Linked DNA regions of Homo sapiens: region 1 is linked to region 2. The links are contacts of gene promoters, found by promoter capture Hi-C in blood cells and fetal thymus (Javierre and others, 2016). All regions are on one chromosome and are shown on one strand. Each heading gives the region's core, a stretch centred on a gene start or on the middle of the fragment in contact. The rest is flanking DNA. Distances are from core to core; before and after follow the strand shown. Region 1 overlaps AUTS2 (activator of transcription and developmental regulator AUTS2). Region 2 holds the start of AUTS2 (activator of transcription and developmental regulator AUTS2).

Region 1 (4,024 bases), core at 64-2,563, 230 kb before region 2:
TGAGATCCTTAACTCTGACTGTTCTCCTTACATGCAAACATAAGTTAACAGTCTCTCTGGGATTGGGGGCAAGGAAGCAAAAAGACGCTTTGCTTATAAGAGGGAGAAAAGAGGAGAGTAAAGGCAGGACAGAAAGAACACATAGTCCAAGCAGATTCCTGGGTGTGGCTCTTTTCAAAATTCCCAGAAGCTACAACCACCTCTCCATGAGCTAGTTCTGGGGCCCAAGGAAAGCATTTCCCACCCTGGACCTGTCTGGTAACTGGGAGAAACACTCCCAAAAGTCAAGAAATTAGAAAGCTCAATAGCCAAATGCCTAATAAAGACAGAGCTGACATGAAATGGGTGTTGACTCTTTATCCCTTCACAGATAAACAATGTTATTTTTATCCTAGACTTCCTTGAGATGGAAGTAAAGGTAGACAGCATAGAACACATACTAGACACTCAATAATTTGTTGGAGGAAGGAAAACAACTCATAAACCACCCCAGAAAAATGTAGTCTTCCAAAACTAAATATATTAAGCTTTAACATTATCATCCTAGACACACAACATAGACTGAGAAAAACACCTTGCCTAGGAATAAAATACCACACACAAATATTCACACTTACAATAGACTAAAAGTGAAAGTAGGCATTTTGGAGAGGCAAGATCAGAATTCTTAATAAAAGATGACACTCTCTTGACTACATCAAGTGTATATTCCCGTCTATCAACTGTGCTCTACAGAGGCAAATGGCAAGATGCTTAATATTAATAGTTGCACACGCACACACACAAGCAAGCACATGCAATGCAAATAAAGGATTCAACTATGACAGCCAGGACAGAACCCTGAGATGCCATTAGTCACATTTATAGGGTGTTCTAATCCAAGCAAAAGTACTATCCAAAGCTCAGTGTACTGAAGGGATTTACAGTCAAAAGCTGTGGATTCAAGGCCCAGGTCTATCACCTTAGGCAGGTCACTTAACCTTGCCGCATCTTAAATTTTTTTATCCATAAACTGGAGACAATAATTAGTTACTTTGCCAGTCCACAGCCGTGTGAGAGATTAAAACCTTCTGGACAGGAAAACTATAAAATAACTAACTAACTATAAGGGGTTATCCTTACTTAATATACTTCTCAATCTACAAACCAAAAAATAACAAATTATCAAACTCCCAGGCCATTCTCCCCTGTGTTCATAGAATTCTCCCTGCATGAATAACTATAGCTGCAGGACCTGATTCAATATGGGCTACCTAAAAAGGAAAAGAAAGAAAGAAGAGTTTTTAAAAGGCCCTAATTCTCTTGACTGAAAAAGGTGTCTGTGTTTAAGAGCAAAACAGGGCAATAGAGAACCTGTTTCCAGTTGGAGTGCAGAACCACAACACTCATAAGGACTAGATGCTTAAAGAGGAAATAAATGGCACTACGTTAATTGCTTCTTTACCTGACAATTTATGTTGCACACAGCAAGCCTCTGCTGATCTTAACCAAGGATCAGTTTTATGCCTCAAGCATTCCGAAGCTGGGCGTCTTCCTCCTCCTGGAACAATAAAAGTGTATGCTTGTGGACCTGCTCCCTTACGGACCACTGAAGGAGAAAGGCTCAGGGATTAAGTAAAAAGGCTAGTACATCTGGGCTCCATTCCATTATTTAGTCATCCAAAAGAAGTGAAGTGGAGGATAGTGAGCATCTAGTATATGCCAGGCACTAGACTGGCTGCAGAGGATTCAGAGATACAAAAGACACACTTGTTACCCTCCAAACCGCTACCCAAATACAACCGCATGGCTCCATTGTCAAAATCAGCACTGCAATGGAAGACAACAAGGTTACTGCTGAGAAAAAGCAGAACTGTTCTCATGCCACTGGTTCTTCCATTAAGACAGTGCTTTCGGAGGAGAGCCTCTCAGCCCAGTTATACCCTAGAATCACCTAGGGAGTTTTTTAAAAACATCAATGCCTGGGCCCCATCCCAGAGCAACTATGTATCTGGAACTGGCCCAGGCACTAAAATTTCTTAAAAGCTCTGCCAGTGATTCTAATGTGACCCCAGGGTTGAGAACCATTGTTTTAAGTCCTTCTGCCCCAGGAAGCTTTCTCTCATACTGACAGATGGCAGTAATGCATAACAGAAGAGGTCTAAAATTGTTAAAGGACATGTGGCCTCATTCATATGGATTGCAAAAATTAATATTAAAAAGATAACTATGTAAACGCTAAAGAAAGCTCTACTTACTGGCTAAATAAAGAAATTTCTTTCTAAAATGGCCCAGGAAATATGTTAGCAAAAATGTTTCTTGATTTTAAGTTACTATCCACACAAAATCACCAGTAAACAGGAGCCACCGAAGTATAGTGAAGTATTTTCTGCATAAGGTTCAATCCCACCAACCCTTTGTCTTTTAACTTGTCATTAAAAGTCTTATTGCGCAATCTCCGAAATAGATACAGCTTTTGATTGCCAGCCAAAGCAGATCAGGAAATGCAGATTAAGTAGACAGCTGCAAAGCTCAATTTCACCAGTAACTACCCCAAACCACATATAAACTCAAGCCAGAAGGAGAAGTATGGCCAATGAAAGTGCCAAATGCCCAGGTCTTTTATCTGATTGCTCTGTTTCCATGGCCTTACCAAAATGAAGGGAAAGGTGACAATGTCCACAGAAAGGAAACGCAGACACTCCAGTGGCTTGTATGGCAAGGAGGGTTCTCAGAACTGAGGGGTTGTGAAGCTGATGAAAATGATAGTGAAGCCCAACCAAGATCGGCGATTAAAAAAAAAAATCGAGGGCTGGTTTCGGTTCCTATATAAATTATACTTCTGCCACAACAATGGACCACAAGATATCAGTTCTCAGAAATAATAACAATGATTTATGACATTAAGTATCACACTTATTTTTTTTTTTTTGAGACAGAATCTCGCGCTGTCACCCAGGCTGGAGTGCGGTGGCGCGATCTCGGCTCACTGCAAGCTCCGCCTCCCAGGTTCACGCCATTCTCCTGCCTCAGCCTCCTGAGTAGCTGGGACAACAGGTGCCACCATGCCCGACTAATTTTTTGTATTTTTAGTAGAGATGGGGTTTCACCGTGTTAGCCAGGATGGTCTCGAACTCCTGACTTTGTGATACGCCCACCTCGGCCTCCCACAGTGCTGGGATTACAGACGTGAGCCACCGTGCCCAGCCGTATCACACTTATTAATAGCTATAATTTGAGTACTTACATCCAGTGACTAAGCTAATCATTCAATCTCACAATATCTCACAAAATCCTCACAATATCTCAGTGAGGTTGGTATTATTACTAACCCTATTTTATAGATGAAAAAACTGAGGCAAAGAGAAGTTCAGGTCTTGGTCAAAATCATACCTCTAGAGTTTCAAGTCCGGCTGTCTCTTCGGAATACAGAATTCTCAATTTCTCTCAAAGTATCTAACAAAATCACCTCAAAACTCATCAAATCCATTTCACTGTCAATGTTCATATGAAACGTTTACATTTTCCCTGGGTAACTGAGTTCCTCTTGCTGGTTTTTTGTTTTTTTTTCCACCTAGCAATCATGATTTTTTCCTGTATTCAGTAAGTGCTTCCTTTTATGTGCACAGAAAAATCAATGTCATGATAATGGTGGTGTAAAGCTGAAGTGATCCCCAGTATAAGTGAAACCTGTTGATTAGCAGGCCCGGCACAACTATAGTACTTTGATGTTAGTCGCCCCTAATTAAAAGAGCACTCAACAGTTAAGTACACAAACGAGTAAGCTGAAAAGACCTGTGTTAACAGCAGGGGTGATCTACCAATGTGTCCAATGCTGATGGACTGTAGCTGCTGTGGGACACATGTTTAGGCATCTTTTCATCACTGCTGCTCAACATACAGTTCAACAAGCAGGCTCCTTTCAAGGGCTCCTTACCTAAACAAATCCCCCTTGCTTCTACAAGAGTCTATGCTGAGTGGAGTTCAGATTTAACGAGGCATGCAACCTTATGCCATTCCTAGCCAACTACTGTCCTGCACAATC
Region 2 (4,316 bases), core at 1,755-4,254:
AGAAAAGGACAACACTGATAGGAAGCCTTCCTTTGAAAAAAATATTTAAAGCTGACACCCAAACACATAAACAGAACCAGCAATCTAAACCTGTACAGTTACCGTATGTGAGATTTAAGCTGTCATTAACAAAGCTTGCATCTGAGCATGTGAAACAATACCATAATAACGCAAAAAAAAAAATGGAAAGGGAAAAGTTTCCTTCAGGAACCTCAAACCATCACATCAGGTGCATGAAACACTATAAGCCAACTATAAACCGTATCTTGGTTTTGTGCTTAAGAAAGGTGGACCAACTCTGCAGAATCTCAAAGCCTTCTGTGTGTGTGTGCATGGTGTGTGGGGGGTGGGGACAGGGAGGTGGGGGAGGAAATTAGGCGGTTAAATTTATAGAGGCCAATGACCAATACCACACCAAAGGAGACAGGTCCAGGCAAAGACAGTTTCCCCCCAACCCTGGACAGTCTCCCCCTCCCTCCCTTTTCCCTTTCCCCCTACCCTAGGAGCCAGTTGGCTGGAAGGAAAATGTGCATTTGAAAATCAACGCTGCAGGTGCCCAAGGAATAAAGAAAGACACACACATAGACACACACAAAGCCAATCACTTAGAAAGAAAAAAAAGAAAACACAAAAAAGGAAAGGGAGAGGGACAATTGGTGACAAGCCCTTCAGATAGCAGCTAGGATTTTATTCTTCCCTCCCACCAGTCTTCCCTGGTGTACCTTTTTCTGTCCTTTAACTAAATTGCTCATGTACACACACACATGTGCCTATGTATGTGTATAGATAATATTATAATTAACCCTTTCTGTAACAGAACCCCATACAGAATACAGAGAGCTATTCCACCCTTCCCTCTTCTCTCCCCTCCTCCCTCCTTTCTCCCAACCAGGAGAAAACGCCCCCTTCCCCAGCTTCACCAAAAAAAAAAAAAAAAAAAGAATATGGGGGGGTAATGGGGGGAGGCGCAAAGAAATCACAAAACCCCATCAGTCTCCAGTCCCGAGGACACCCGGGAAAGGTATATACTACACAGACACACACACACACACACACACACACACACACACGAACATATGACTCTGTAGAAAGCACACAGAACCGTCCACAGGCGCCCCAAACCCAGCAAAGAGACTTCCACCAGCCAAGAAGCCATGATTGGGGAGGGAGAGGAGGAAGGAGTGGGGGCAGAGCTCTCTGTGGAGAGGGGGCGCATTGTTGTGATGCCCGAACCCCTTTCTTTCTGCCCATCTGCTGTGGAGGGGGTGCAGGGAGGGGGCGCAGGGGAAAGGCGAGCGAGGAAACGAGACCAGGCACGGCTTTGCGACTCCCTCCTGCTGCCTGTCTGCCCGCGCCCCCAGCTCCCCCCACCAACAATAAGACCTCAGCCTAGACAGACAGACAGACAGACAGACAGACAGACAGCCCGGAGCGCGGCGAGGGAGGCAGGAGAGCCGGGCGCAGCCGAGTGGGGTCGTGCATAAAGGGAACCCGGGGGAAGGGGGGTCCCCCTTACCTCCAGCGCTTCAAAAGTGACAAAGCTGGTCATGGCAAATCCATCAATGATGTCCTCTTCTGCCGAGGTGGACTCTCTCCGCTTCCTCCGCGGGGGTCTGGGCCGGGACGGGGCGGAGGACGGGGGCTTCCCATTGTCTTCCTTGTCGGAGCCCGACGACGAGGCGAGTGAGAGCGCCCGGGTCCGGCCAGCCCCGCCGCCGCCGGCCGCGCCGGCCCCCAGCCCGCCCCGGGAGCGCCTCTCCCGGTCTCGCTGCGACCGCGACCGCCGCTTTTTGCGGAGTCCATGGCCCCGCGTCGGGCCATCCATGGTTCTGCTGCGCCGGGGTCTCCCCGCTTGCCCGCCACAGGCTACGGCCGCAGCCACACAAAAAAAAATTGACACCGAGCCCTCCCTCCCCCTTCACGGCTTCCCTCCGCCCCGAGGAGGGCGCGGGGGAGACGGCGGCCGAAAGAAGGGAGAGAGGGGAAGAAAGAGAGGAGAAAGAAAAGGGGGAAGGGGCGGAGAGAGGGGAGGAGGGACGGGGAGCGAGGGCGAGAGGCGAGGAGCCCAAGTGTGGGGCTCCCCACAGCACCGAGGGTCGGAGATGCCTGGGAGCAGCGCCGAGCAAAGTAATGGCTGAACACACAGGTCTCCTTTAGAGGAAAAAAAAATAACTCACCAAGCAAGCAATAAATCAGAATAGCGGAATGCTTTGATCAAGAGACTGGGAGGCTCCGGGGAGCCCTCCCCGCGGCCATTCTCCGCCGCGCCCCCCGCCCCCCGAAAACGCCCGCGCCCCCCTCAACTCGATCCAAAATCGGGTCCGAAAAAGGTCGCGGGAAAAGTGGGGGCAATGAACTTCACCCGCCCCTCGCGCAGGAAAACACCCCCGCCGCCTCTCACACACGCCTCGGAGAAAACTCACTCCCAGGCTCCCAAATTTTTAAGAAATGCAGCCAGGGGAGGCCGGGGCTCCGGAGCGACCCAAGAGGGGCGAGACCCCCCAGAGAGGGGAGCATAATAATGCAATCATTAGCGGAAGAGAGGGCGAAACTGCGAGCGGCGGAGGAGAAGGGAGGCGGAGGAAGGGAAGGAGGATGCTGCTGGAGCAGTTGTGGGGTTTGCTTTTCGGTCTTCGAGGGGGGAGGAGAGGGAGATGAAAGAAGAGAAGAAGCAAACCCTGTCGCTGCCACCCGCCCCCCTCCTCACAAAAATATTTTTTCCAGTCCCAGAGAAGAGGTCACCCTTCCTCAAAAAAGGGAGGGGGTGAGTCAGTCAGTCGATGAGGAAAGCAGAAAGAAATCTCCAGCGGGAGAGACACCGGTGTGCCGCCGCCGCCGCCGCCGCTTCTCTCGCCGCCCCGCCTGAGGGAGAAGCGCAGCCGGGAACGCTGCTCTCGCCGCCGCCGCTAACGCTGCTGCTGCTGCCGCCGCCGCCGCCGAGAAAGCCCCGAGCCGGAGGGTGCACGGCGTGTCCCCGGGCGGCTGCAGCGGGAGCCCGGGCACTGCCCCATCCTCCGCCCGCCCGCCTGCCTCGCGCAGCTCCCGCTCCTCCCCCTCCGCGGCCAGCCCACCGCCGCCGCCGCCGCCGCCGCCCGCCTCAGCCCAACCCCGCGCCCGCCCGCTCGCTCGCTCGCTCGCTCGCTCGTTCGTGCTTTCGCTCGCTCGCTCGAGTGCGCGCGCTCCCGCGCACCCGCCCTCCCCGCGCCTCTCTCGGCGCGCGCTCCCGCCCCCGCGGCCCCGGCCGGCGGGATCACGTGGACGGCTGGGCTCCCTCCTCCCCCGCCCCCTCCCCAGTTGTAGAGTGTGTAGAAAGCAAAAGGCTGGGGGCTGGCCGCGCTCGCGAGCCCAGGGCATGCGCGCTGGGGCGGCCGGGCCTGCGCACTGGGGGCGGTGGGGAGCTGTGAGGGGGGCGGGGGCGGGGGCGTGGAGGGGGCGCCCGCGTGGGGTCGGCCGCGGCCGGGCAGAGTTGGCGCGCCAGGGCGTGGAAGCCGCCGGAGGATCCCGCCTGTCGCAGCGGGGACGCGTGTGGGCCCCTGCTCCCAGGCCACTTCGCGCGCGCGCCCCCCACATCCTCCTCGGGACACTTGTCCCTGGATCCTCTACCCCTGGCCGGCCCGAGGCCGCCTTCTCGGGAAGCCCCACCAGCCCCCAAGGGTGTTTTCCCTTGGCTACCTGCGCTGCGAGGAGAGAAGGGAATTCAGAGAAGGGGTACAAGGGGGGCGTCCCTGGGAGGGGGCGCGACTGGAGGAGACAGAACGGGGAGCGGGTGCCAAAGCGCGGGCCTTTGCTCCGCCTGGGCGCAGTGGGAGCACCAACTGGCAGAGTTGGAAACTTTTCCTCCACGTGGCACCACAGTGCGTGGACGAGCGACCCCGCGCCCGGATGACCCCTGGGATTCCCGCCTCGTCTTCCAGCGGGGGACCTAGGGACGCACGGGCGGCTTCAGATCCGGGAGCGCGAGGCCTAACAGCCGGGGGCCGAACTTGAACCTCGGAGGCGGCCGCGGGCGAGGGGCGGGGCCGAAGGGGCCGGGACCGCCGCCCCAGCTCGAGGACCCGTTAGACCGGCAAACCGCAGTCCCTGCCCCGCGGGCTTCCTTTACTTTTTGGGAGTGGGGGGCGGTTTCCCTGCTTTTTCCACCACAGCCCCTCCTCCCGCCGCAATGTGGCTGATGCTCATAAAAAGTTGTATTAAAGAGCTGACTGCAGCCGAGAATCGATCAACAAAAGCGACCAGCCTCTCTGGGTAAAATAGCTGTGCGTTTTTCAGGGCACTGGAATTGATCTATACGGATCAGAAAGACCGACAGCCCGCTC

The links. Contacts are between HindIII fragments. The CHiCAGO score rates a contact against its expected background, and 5 or more counts as called.
Region 1: a contact is called between a fragment that was not itself captured here and the fragment with the promoter of AUTS2 in region 2, in 1 of 17 cell types (total B cells). The highest score is 5.0, in total B cells.

Annotation. Positions count from the first base shown.
Region 1 is chr7:69,823,296-69,827,319 of GRCh38, reverse strand. All of the region lies in intron 1 of AUTS2 (activator of transcription and developmental regulator AUTS2), which reads right to left. Among named protein-coding and RNA genes, the nearest start is that of AUTS2, 230 kb to the right of the region's middle. The HindIII fragment of the contact is 1,567 bases long and covers 530-2,096 here.
Region 2 is chr7:69,597,163-69,601,478 of GRCh38, reverse strand. AUTS2 (activator of transcription and developmental regulator AUTS2) reads right to left here and starts at 3,004. Exons shown (of 19, transcript NM_015570.4): 1 at 1,517-3,004. The coding sequence starts at 1,825. CT66 (cancer/testis associated transcript 66) reads left to right here and starts at 3,855. Exons shown (of 3, transcript NR_148927.1): 1 at 3,855-4,316. RefSeq lists silencers at 1,691-1,760, 2,925-3,004, 3,025-3,444 and enhancers at 2,525-2,574, 3,755-3,834. The HindIII fragment of the contact is 6,527 bases long and covers 137-4,316 here.